Regions from separate parts of the Homo sapiens genome. Here regions 1 and 2 are each linked to region 3. Evidence: promoter capture Hi-C in 16 types of primary human blood cells and fetal thymus (Javierre and others, 2016). All regions are on one chromosome and are shown on one strand. The core of a region is centred on a gene start or on the middle of the fragment in contact, and the rest is flanking DNA. Distances in the headings are between cores, read along the strand shown.

Evidence for each region. Contacts are between HindIII fragments. The CHiCAGO score rates a contact against its expected background, and 5 or more counts as called.
Region 1: the fragment with the promoter of OR14K1 here is called in contact with the fragment with the promoter of OR2T4 in region 3 in 2 of 17 cell types (endothelial precursors and M1 macrophages); the score reaches 8.6 in endothelial precursors.
Region 2: a contact is called between a fragment that was not itself captured here and the fragment with the promoter of OR2T4 in region 3, in 1 of 17 cell types (M2 macrophages). The highest score is 5.8, in M2 macrophages.

Annotation. Positions count from the first base shown.
Region 1 is chr1:247,735,944-247,740,184 of GRCh38, reverse strand. It overlaps OR14K1 (olfactory receptor family 14 subfamily K member 1), which reads right to left and starts at 1,570. Exons shown (of 1, transcript NM_001004732.2): 1 at 626-1,570. The coding sequence starts at 1,570. The coding sequence ends at 626. The region is part of intron 1 of OR14A2 (olfactory receptor family 14 subfamily A member 2); the gene reads left to right. The HindIII fragment of the contact is 3,693 bases long and covers 31-3,723 here.
Region 2 is chr1:247,718,417-247,722,791 of GRCh38, reverse strand. No RefSeq gene overlaps it. Among named protein-coding and RNA genes, the nearest start is that of OR6F1, 4.0 kb to the right of the region's middle. The HindIII fragment of the contact is 2,252 bases long and covers 435-2,686 here.
Region 3 is chr1:248,359,205-248,363,155 of GRCh38, reverse strand. OR2T4 (olfactory receptor family 2 subfamily T member 4) reads right to left here and starts at 1,491. Exons shown (of 1, transcript NM_001004696.2): 1 at 529-1,491. The coding sequence starts at 1,491. The coding sequence ends at 529. The HindIII fragment of the contact is 1,770 bases long and covers 1-1,605 here.

The sequences.
Region 1 (4,241 bases), core at 321-2,820, 620 kb after region 3:
ACTGAAGAGAATGCCGAAAAGATGAAAGCTTTTTGAGGTATGAGAACCTCATACAAATCTCATGCAATGCATGTGGATCTTCAGAACAAGAGTAAAAATCATTGAAGTTGTCATAGGAAAACTTTAATTATTTCTACATGAATAACAGATGTCAAGTGAAGAAGTATAGGAAAAGAGATGGGCACGGTGGCTTACGCTGTAATCCCAACACTTTTGGAGGCTGAGACCAACGGATTGCTTGAGGTCAGGAATTCAAGACCAGCCTGGCCAACATGGTGGAACTCCGTCTCTACTAAAAACACAAACAAATAGCTGGGCGTGGTTGCATACACCTGTAATCCCAGCTACTTGGGAAGCCGAGACATGATAATTGCTTGAGCCAAGATCACGCCCCTGCACTCCAGCCTGGATGACAGAGAGAGATTCCGTCTCAAAATTTTAAAAAAAAAAAGTGCAAAAATTGTAGGAAAATAGTTGCTTTCTATTTCTATTAAAACTGACTGCTTGAGATTATCAGTAGCAAGACTCCATGACATTTTTATCCCAAAATAGAGATAATTTTAAACAGCTAGTGGATGGCAGAACAACAACAACAAAAAAAGTTACTTCCCATCTTCAACTTTAGTCATCTTTTCATTACCCCACTGCTTCTAACATTCCACAGGACTTTACTCAGAGCGGATTTAATGTCCTTGTTCTTCAGACAGTAGATAACAGGGTTCAAGGTTGGAGGTGCGACAGAATAGAACACAGACACCAGCAAGTCTAGAATAGAAGGTGCATCAGACCCTGGCTTTAAATAAGCAACAGCACCTGTTACAAGAAACACAGTGACAACAATGAGGTGAGGCACACAGTTGGAAAAGGCTTTGGATTGTCTCTGTCTCTGTGATATCCTTAACACAGCAGAGAAAATGTACACATAGGAAACTACAATGCAAACTAAACATGAAAATGCATAACAGACCCCAATGGCCACACTGACACTAATGATGGCATGTTCTTTAGAACAAGTGAGCTTTAGTAGGGCAGGGACATCGCAGAAGAACTGATGTAGCTCATCAGAGCCATAAAAATTCAGAGAGAATGTTCCAGCTGTGTACAAGAGTCCCAAGGCCCCTCTGTTGAGCCAGGACAGAGCCATCAACTGGACACAGAGCCCTCTGCTCATGACAGCCTCACAGTGTAGGGGGCAGCAGATGGCAGCATAGCGGTCATAGGACATGGCAGTAAGGATGCCAATCTCTGATCCAGCCAGCAGTACCACCAAGAAGAGCTGCAACACACACCCCAGGAAGGAGATGGAGTCAGTGGAGGCGACAGAGTTGAGGATGGATTTGGGGACTGTGGCAGAAATGAGACACAGGTCTAAGAAGGACAAATGTCGGAGGAAAAAGTACATTGCCATGTGGAGACGATGGTCCAGAATCATGAGGAGAATGATGACTAAATTCATCAGCACAGCCGTGAGGTAGATCAGTGAGAAGAGCAAAGCATGCAGCCTCAGGAGCACCCAATTCTCAGTAAATCTCACAAGCAAGAATTCCATCATCTGTGTCTGATTGGTCATAGTTCAAAATTATAAGCGCCCTATGGAGTAAAGGAAAATAAGTGTCATACTAATATTAAAAAGTATCATTTGTTTCTTCATTTGTTGAATGAAGGTATGTGTAGCATCAAGGCCTAGACAAAAAGTTTAAAAATATCAAGCAATTTATATTTCTCATGGACTCAGGTGTAAAACAACTGTGGGTATATCAGTCTAACACTTAGTAGTCCTGGACTAAGATTTATTGTGAAAGAAGCAAAGAACTTCACTTCTCTCCCTCATTACTTGAAATGACTTTTGAGTGATTTTATTTCCTTTGGGAATTACAGGGTTGGCTATGCAATTATATATAAAACTGCAATAGGGCATACATTTTCATGTATAAATATCCCGGTTAATGTAGTTTTGTGTGTATTAAATGTTGTGAATGAAATTTCTGCTTGCTACTTACTGCAATATTTAAAATAGTCATTATCCTCAGGTGATACTCTAATTTACTATCCCCTTCTCACTGAAGGATGTTAAGATTATTCTCCCATTTTTGCATTAAAGTTTACTCCTTTGGTGAAAATGTGATTATAGTATCATTTTTTTCTTTCTTTAGTCCATATACATAGCATAGCACAAAAATTAAAAAGTACTCGTTATTTTCACAAATCAGTTTTCAAATATATAGTGTCATTTTTCATGAAAAGAACAAAAACCTGAGACTTAGCCAGATGATTAACATAATATTCTAGGAAGGATTTAATTAAACACAGGAAGCGACAGACAGGGATATCTACTGCATCTAACCAGAGATGCAGTGTGTCCTCTTATGTGATAGACATTCAGAGATTGTCATCTGAGATCCCTCGCACACCCCAACGTGAGGGAGAGTTTTGGCCATGTTTTTCCCTCAGATCATCTTGTCTTTAGAACCTCTCTTGATTTTACTTTAGTATCACTTCAATGGCAATTTTTTCACTTTCCCCTTTGGTTTCCAGGCCATCTCTAAAACACACAGAACAGAAAACAGGATGGACGGTTTGCTAGTTTGGAAGTAGCTCTTAGGGTATGTAGACACTGCTCTAGGTTTTATTCTCCCCAGCAGGTCAAACAGAGGAGGCTTTAAGTTTGGGGCAGCCATGAACTTGCTCATGTTGAGCTATAAGTCAGGCTCTCCATTATTGCTCTAAAGCTACTGCCAGTGCTTTTTCCAACAAGAACACCCAAAGTTTGCAACATAGCATGAGATTTCCATTTGCTCTTGAGTCTTTTCAACTTAAAAAATATTTTATTTTTGTAGACACAAGAGAGTCTCACTTTGTTGTTCAGCAGTTTTTCAACTGAAAGAGAATGTAGCAGACCATTACAACATACATTCTCCTCCTTCTCTATACACACATATGCACACACACACAGCCGAGAGGATGAGCAAGAATAAACAGAGCTTTTCCAGGATGAGCAGTCGTACCTCTAACCTTCATAGAATATGTCCATTTCAGTACAAGTGATTTTCTGAGAACTAAATTAACAAGTGATTTAAAGTTGAAAAGGGACCAGGCATGGTGGCTCATGCCGGTAATCACAGCATTTTAGGAGGCTGAGGCCAGAGGATCTCTTAAGGCCAGGAATTCGAGACAAGCCTGGACAACAAGATGAGACCCCTCTATGTCTACAAAAATTAAATAAAATAATGTTTTAAGTTGAAAAGACTCATGAGCAAATGGAAATTTCTTACTATGTTGCAAACTTTGGGCTTTCTTGTTGGAGAAAGCACTGGCCCTAGCTTTAGAGCAATAATGGAGAGCCTGACTCATAACATGAGCTAATTCATGGAAGCCCCAAAAGTAAAGCCTCCTTTGTTTGACCTGCTGGGGAATAAAACCTGGAGCAGTGTCAAAATACCCCAAGAGCTACCTCCAAACTAGCAAACCATCCATCCTTGTTTCTGTTGCATTAGCCTGTGTGTTTTAGAGACAGCCAGGGTAGCTCAGTGAGTGAGTGAGTGTCCTTTTGAGTTCCTTCCACCCCAGTGATGTTTGACTCCAATGCTAGATTTTTATCCCTTCAGTCTCATTTTTGATTTATATTTCACCTTATTTCACATGCTTACATATGAAATGAGTGATAGCATTAGTTTAAAAGTCTGTGTGCTTTTCTTTACAGATAACATTAATAACAATAAAGCTTTGCCTCATTATATTTATATACTTATTTGGTCCAGGGAAATTCCACATGATTAAATAAAAATATGCAATCTGAGTCTCAATCAATCTAAAACTGGGAAAATACATATAATACACAAAATAATCCTAAAATCAAGGGGTATCTAAGAAGGCTGGGAAGATAGGGTAAGTTCAGGTTTATATGTTTCTTTACCATTTCTATATCATATTAACAACAAATTTTATCACTTTTGTCAAGAATATGAGGAATGGAGAGAATGAGAGAGCAAAGGGGAAGAGGAGAGGAGAGGAGAGGGGAGGGGAGGGGAGGGGAGGCCTATATGGAGTCTTCAGCTCCGGAAAATGTTTCCATTCTCGAGTAAGATCAACAGAAGCAACATTCATAACAAAGGCTATATGGAATCTTCAGCCCCGGAAAATGTTTCCATTCTCGAGTAAGATCAATAGAAGCAACATTCATAACAAAGGCCGGTGAGAATGCTTTCCCAAACAGTTCTATATTTATTTCAAAATAATTTCAG
Region 2 (4,375 bases), core at 311-2,810, 640 kb after region 3:
ACCCATTTTCTCTATTTTATTCACTGAGAACAAATTAAAAATGCTGAGGTGATTCAATGAGTGCAGTATAATGCATTTGCATTATACTACCCAGATAAAATTCACATGACTCCCCTGAGAATCTAGCTAGAGCTGAGCAAGAACAATACTAGGCAAAAATAACACAGTGAGCTAAGGCCATTTTAGAGGTGTGCCCAGATCTGTAAACAATCTGCAGGACACCTAAAGCAGAGGTGAGAAGACATGTCTGAGCCAAGGTCTCCTAGGCAAGTGGTGGTCACCCAGTAAATAGTATTTCCAGAAACAGACCAGGCAGAGTTCTGAAGGTCTGAGAACTGTGTGTTTCTATGTGTCTGCATGTCTATAGTTCAGAAAGGCCTTCACCTCTCCCTGTATAAAGAATAATGTTTTAAATCTGATTCTGAAGAGAAGCTTGGAAATGTGTTAAAATGATTTCCCAAGTCATTCAGTTGTGATAGACTTCCTTTGGTTTAACCACGAGTGTCTACAATGTGAAACCTTTTTCTTTACCTTCTATATAACCCCCCTAGAGATTCTGTGTCTTATTACAATAACTTTCTGGGTTTTATATTGACTTTGTTATGTTCTTATTTATCTAAGAAAAAATACAAATATTCCTAAGATTGTTCTCAATTATTATGCTCTTTTTTCAATCATGTTACTAATGTTTTATTAACCATTGAATTAACTAGATGGCCAGGTAATAATTCTGAGTCACATGTTATCTTATTTAATCATGTCCCAAATATCCTCTGACAGCTATGTTGATTTTTACCATACCAAAATAAGATGCTAAAAATATAAATAAGGTTAAATTAAACTTTCATGATATATCTTACACATAAAATTTCCTTTAAGTTCTACCAGAGGGAAAATCACACAATTATTTGTTCTTTCCCTTTAAAGAAAAAAATGTATGCTAAACATGAATCAATTATGTTGACATGTACATCTACCTATTGTCAGAGTTGAGTAGGCAGAGTTGTAAAAGAGAAAAGACTGTTACCCTACCCTCAGTTAAATTATATTGGTGAAATATTTTTGGTTTAAATATTTAAGAAATTACGTGCATTGTGGAAAATCTGTTGAGATTTTTCAGTGTCCTCCCTTTTGTTTTTTTAGTAGCATCTGATATTTTATAATTATAGTCCTCTTTTTCTTATACTTTATTAGTTTTATTGATACACAATAATTGTATATATTTATAGGGTACATATGATATATTGATTCAGGCATATAATGTATAATAATCAAATTGGAGTATTTGTGTTTTTCTTTGTCTGCCTGAATTATTTCAACAGAGTTGTCTTCAAGTTCAAAATTTTTTTCTTCTACTTCATCTAGTATTTTGTTGAAGCTCTCAATTACATTTTTATTCCATTCATTAAATTCTTTAGTTCCAGGATTTCTATTTGTTCTTTTTTACGGTATCTATTTCTTGTCGAATTTCTGATTCGGATCATGATTTTTTTTCTTATTTCTTTGTATTATTTATCTGTGTTCTTTTGTATCTCACTCGGGTTCTTTCAGAGAATAATTTTTCTTCAGGCATTTTATATGCCTTTTCTTTGGGGTCTTTTACTGGGGAATTATTGTCTTCCTTTGTAGGTGTCATATTTCCTTGCTGTTTTGTATTTCTTTCATCCCTATGTTGATATCTGTGCATCGCATTTAACAGTCACTTCTTCCAGGTTTATGGAGTAGCTTCTGTAAAGAAATACTTTTTCTTACTATATATGTGGCTTCAATTTTGGTTGGGCAGATTGCTTTGGCTTTGGTTCTGGATATGCACCATACTGTAGCCACTGTATGATTTCTTTTACTGTTATCAATGTCAGTAGTTTCTGTGCGTTCCTTAGTGGCTTAGGTTGCAGTTGTTTGCAGATGCTTTGGCTAGCCTTTGCTGAAGATGAGGACACAAGGTTGACTGGTGCTTAGGCCTTTTGGTGGTGTGTGCAAGTGCTAGCTGTAGTGGCAGCAAACCCTCAGTAGGCCAGTCTTTAGACCTTTGAGTGTGTAACAAGGATGCTGGCTGTAGAAACAGCAGGCTGGACAGGCTGGCCCTCAGGCTCCTGGGTGGGGTGTGTGGGTTCCAGTAGGCTGGACACACCACTCTTCAGCCTCTGGACAGTGTGTGCAGGTGCCTACATGTGTACTTACATGGATCTCTCATTTACCTTTTTTCCATATGAGAAGGGAAGTACTTCCTGGCTCCTAGCCCATCCAACTGGCTGCCTTACTTCCTTCTCTATGCTGCCATTTTGAATTTCCATACCTCAGAAGGTTCCTTTTGCTTCCCTGCTGGATACCAGCATTCTCTCCTAGACAGTGCCGTCAACATTTGGCTATTTACTTGCTATCTCAGTCCTTCTTTGTGGAGTAGGTGAGTGCTGGGCATTTCTAGTTAGCCATCTTAATGACAGCTGTCCAAATTATATCAGTGCCTTATTTTTCTATAATATGTTTTAATTACCAGGGAAAAATTGATAAAAAACCATTTTTTAGAAGATTGACAGCTAGTAAATATTTAAGAAATAATAGAATTTAAAAATTCATAATATTAATCATCTATATTGGAATTGATTCAGGCAAGAATCAGCCATGGATGATGAAACCACTAGAAAAAGAGTTGCAAGAAAATGAGATATCTTCATAATGACAAGCTTTTAACCTCAAACTATCTATTCCATATTTACAATAAAGAGAATGATGGTAGCCTCCATAATCTAATTGATCAAACTGGTAACAATAATAGTAAAATAACTTATGTGCCTCCTGATATGTTACAATATGTAGACTACATCATCCTTGAAATATTCTCTTAAAATATTTAACCTGGAGTTTAATCAAGCCTCAGAACTAACTTCCAGTTTTCAGAAAAACAGAAGATACAAATTTAATAATACCACATGAGAAACAACTGAACAAACAAATAATATGAGACATCCTGTAAGAGACTGATGAGACTGCTCAAAAAGTCAAATTTGGGGGCAAAATGACCAAGGAGAGTCCTACAGTAAAAGAAACTAAAGATGGATTACATATTCACAAGAACATTGAAAAGTATATGGTATCTGAGAATAACTCATCAATGGGGAAAAATAACTTTTGGAGAATATAATTTTTTAAGTTACCTAAGAGTATGAACAAAATGAAAGTAGTTGGATTATATACTGTGTACAGGGATGAGAAGATTCAATAAAGGTGTTGATTCTCCATAAGTAACCAATAAACTTTTCATTTGAAGTCTTAAAGTAGTTCAAAATGGAACTTAAGTTTTTAAAACATTCATATACACAACTTAACAGCCATGAAAATTAAAACAATTTTTAAGATGAAAAAGTAAGAAGTAGAGTAATGGCTTTTCAGATATAAACATGTCTATAATATTACAGTAATTGAAAGATTATGGTTGTTTAGAGATAGAAAATGGACCAAAGGAAGAAAACTCAATCCATTCATGAATGGTGACCAGAATATGACAGAGGATAAATCATACATTACTGGAAAAGGAATGACTAGAAAGGAAAATAATGTAGAAAAAAATAGAATTAAATATTTTTAAAATCCACCTTACACTACACATACAAAAAATAAAATTCAGATGAATTACAAACCTAAATATACTGAAGTTCACATCCTCACTGACACTTAACTTTTATCTTTTTTATGATAGCCACTCTAACAGGTGTGAGGTGATGTCTCACTGTGGTTTTAATTTGCATTTCCCTGATCTTTAGGGATGCTGTGCACTTTTTCATATATTTGTTGACTATATACCTTCTTTTAAGAAATAACTGTTCAGGTCCTTTGCCCATTTTTAAATTAGATTATTTGTTTTCTTGCTATTGAGTTTAGTGTCTTATTTATTTCAGATATTAACTCTGTATCAGACATATGGTTTGCAAAAGTTTTCTCCTAATTCAGTTTGTCTCTTGTTAACTATTTCCTTTGCTATGCAGAAGCCTTTTAGTTTGATGCAATCCCATTTGTCTAATGCTTTTGTTGCCAGTGTTTTGGGGGTCTTATCCAAGAAATCATTGCTCAGACCAAAGTCATGGAATTTTAATTCATTTTGCATTGATTGTTGCATATTGTGTGAGACAGGGTCCAATTTCATTCTTCTGTATATAGCTATCCAGTTTTTCCAAAGTACTCAGCATGCCAAAGTGTCATACTTTGAGGTATCATTTTCTGAGCCCAAACATAAGCATTACTGGTGTTACTGTAGAATATATTTTCAGATTGTTTCACACGAACAAACAAACTAAAAATATTAAATATAAACAGCAAAGGAGAGAAATTCTATTGTTTCTTTTCTATTTCTTAAGTTGTTTTGCATAGTGATTTATTT
Region 3 (3,951 bases), core at 242-2,741:
ATTGTCTCAGCAGTGAATAACTACATTGCAATCAGCAAGTTTTCTAAGATATTATATCATGTGTACTGCTCAAAAAAGGTGGGAGGGAGGGGACATATTTTAATTATTTATTTAAAATTAATTTCAATTTTACAGAAAATTAGCATAAATAAAAGTAGTACAAAGAACATCTATATGAACCCTTTTTCTTCCTCATTTCTCCCTCTCTCTCAATTTTATGCCTTATAACCTTTATCCTCTAAGTAGTATCATTATGTATTCCCAGAATATGAAAATATCCTATAGAATTAGAAAGTAGTTATGAACTTCAGTAACTGTAACATCAATATAATATGACTGAATAATGCATTTTGAAGTGAGACGGAGTGTAAATTGAAAAGTTTCTAGTACAGGAAAGCGATTTCTAAAAGAGGTGTGAAAATGAGATCAAACACCATGGCAGTCTTGGAGTCTGGGAAATAACACTGGTATAACATTCTCATATGTGAAGTGCAGAGAGAAGGAAAAGTAAATTACTCTCAAAATGGTCTACTCCATAGCTTTTTGAAAGGCAGGTTCCACTGTTAACATTTTCTTCAGAGCCCCCATGACATCCTTATTCCTAAGACTATAGATTAAAGGGTTCACCACTGGAGTGAGGATGGTATAGAAGACAGATACCATCATGTCCTTCTCAGGGGTGTGGTAGGAGCTGGGGAGCATGTAGGTGTAGATGGCAGCCCCATAGAAGAGGATGACCACAGTCAGGTGGGAGGAGCAGGTGGCAAAGGCCTTTTTCCGGCCCTCTGCTGAGTTCATCCCGTGGATGGTGAGGAGGATGAGTAAATAGGAGCTTGAAATGATCACCACAGGGATGAGGAGCATGAGGACACAGCACAAGTACATGAAAATCTCATAGAGTGAGGTGTCTGAGCAGGAGAGATTCAATACAGCAGGAACTTCACAGAAGAAATGATGAATCTCCCGGGATCCACGGAAGGGGAAGGTCATGGTGATGGGAGTGAATGTGAAGCCATCCACTGAGCCCAGGAACCAGCAGCCTGATGACAGGAAGAGACACACCCTATGGTTCATGAGGACAGGGTAACGGAGAGGATGGCAGATGGCCACGTAGCGGTCATAGGCCATGGTGGCTAGAAGGAAAAATTCTGAACCTGCTAGTGTCACGTAGAAGAACATCTGCATCCCACACTCAGGGGCTGAGATCTTATTCACACCCATGACCTGGTCCAGGAGCATCTTGGGCACAGTGACAGAAATGTACGCCATGTCCATGAGAGACAATTGACTGATGAAAAAGTACATGGGGGTGTGGAGGTGGGCGTCACAGTGTATCAGAAGGATCAGGACAGCATTTCCAGACAACGCCATCAGGAAAACCACAAAAATGACCACACAAAGTAGTGCTGGATGTTTGGATTGTCTGAAGAGTCCCAACAGGATGAAATCCGACCATCCAGTGTGGTTGGCCATCCAGGTGATATTGGCCATTGGATGTTTGGATTGTCTGAAGAGTCCCATCAGGATGAAATCCGACCATCCAGTGTGGCTGGCCATCCAGGTGATGTTGTCCATGAGGTTTCACCTAGGCCACAAAGGAAAGCTTGGGGTTAAAGTAATTTGAGCCTCTGAAACAAATTGTGTGTGTGTGTGTGTGTTCTAACCAAAGAAAGGCCCATGGGCCTGTAGATTTGGGTGTTATAAATTATCTGCAATTCAAAAAATTTACCAGGAACTAAGAATTCACAACTGTGGATCAAAAGGGTGATTTGTAGTGAAGTTGCCACAGTTCTGAGTCATGAGATTTCCCGATGAGAGTGTCTGTTATAAACAAGTCCTGGAAACTGGCAGTGTCACTGCCTTATGCAGACATGAATAGTGAATTATTGAAAACAAAGGAGAATTTTGTCCCCCTGTTTTTAGAGTTGTTTAGAGAAGTCTAAAGTGAATTACATTCTCTGGTTTAAGGATCCATCTGGAATCTTAAAAACTCCCAAAAGTGTATTCCATATAGGAATGATTTAGAACATGACTAAAATATCACTTGTGGAAAATCCATACCAAACATTTGCACCCTTCTACCCACAGTATTGGACAATGCTGTGAGGCTCTGTGGTTTCGTGGAGCAAAACCCCACACATCCCCATGAGCAAGCCAGGGTCCTCCTACACACCAGACTCCTCAGAAACCAGAGTCGCATGGGGTGAGGAGCCCAGGGACCGTGGCTGGACTGCAGGGTGGACCCAGCTTCCCCTCTACCTGCTATTCCTCTGTTTACTGCACATAAAAATAGATGGTAAGAAAAGGTTTGACCTCAGGGTTGATGAAGATTAAATGCAGAAAAGTAATGAAAGTGCTTAGAATATTACCAGTTACAAATGAACAAATACATACACTGTCAAAGAGTTAATATCTACACAAATTATTCTGCAGACTGTATTACTATAATCATCTTATGATATGAGCTTCATTACTTCAGTTTGCTGATTTTATCATTTAGTCAGACTTGTAAGAATTTGGATTTGATAATTTCTCTAGTCCCAGACAACTTGTATGTATACAGTTTACATTTATTTTATATAAATTTATAGATATGCATTTTTATATATGTGCAGATTTACAAATATAAGAATACATTGTATATGCATATTTACAAATAGAAATGCATATATTAATGTAAGGTATGTCTCTTATTTTCATGTTGAGCAGAGATTTATGCAGAATCCACCTTCTTTGTGACTAGTGCATGCTTCTCCAAGCTTAACTCCTTAAAGCTCCTGTCATTCGCATTAAATCTCAGGGGGGCATAACTGGGATTTAGAAACTCCCTGCTATTTACCAGGTAAGGCTTTTGGTGTTTTTGCAAATATCTGCTTTATTGCCTGCTACAGTGAATTTTTTCACGGAAACTGTGAGGCAGAAAAGAAAATAAAACACTAAGATGTCTCTCACTTCAATTAAATTCCTTCCTCTATCTTGCTACTCACAGCCTGACTCTGTGTTAGCTAGTGCAGGAATCAAAGACAAATTATATTTGATTAAGCTTGAGGAGGTCACAGTCAGTCTATTCAGGAAAAAACATATAAACATGATTTAAAGTACAACTTCAGATTAGAATAGCTATGAGCTACATTAACAAGGCTAATAGAAGCAAAATACATTTAACCTTTCTGAAGAGAATCACTGATAACTCCTACATTTTCTCTTAAGAAGATTAAAACTTTGCAACTTTTCGATTTCTGACATGTTGTTAAATTTTAGTATTTATCAATAGGAAGAAAATATAGGGTCCTTTTTCAGGGAAGACTTTAGCAGTGGTTATCATACAGTCATATTTCAGGAAGAATTTCCAAGTTTCAAATACATTTTGAATTCTTTTAATAATTCTAATTAGACTTATTAATATTTTCAAGTTTTGGAGAATAATAATTAGATGCGGAGACTGGGCAGCTGTTTGCTAAGTGAATGGAGGGAGACCAAGAGGGCAGTGCGGGATGGGAGGTGGATGCTGGGCAAATCTCTGCTGCACTTTTGTAAATGGAAGTCCCTGTCATTAAGCCACGCTGAACAGCTGACCTGGGACACCAGATCAGTGAGGGAAAACTGTGACTGCAGCATGCAGCACAACTGGACTTTTTCTTTCTTTTATTTTTCTTGATCACATTGCTTGAGTTTCCAAACAGCACAATGCATGTTTAACCCAGGGAATAATTAATAGTGGTGGTAGGGCAATATTGAGCATTTATGTGAAGCTTACAGTATCCTAGGAATTGTTCTTAATGCCAGTTTACCACATTTAATTTTCCTCAAGAACCTATGAGGTATATAATCTAATTTCACCATTTACAGATTTAAAAGTTCAAGTTCTGGGGTATCTATCTAACATCACACAGCTAACCCCATGGAGTAAGTACATCGGTGCAGGTGCGGGACCCAGAGCATGTCACTTAC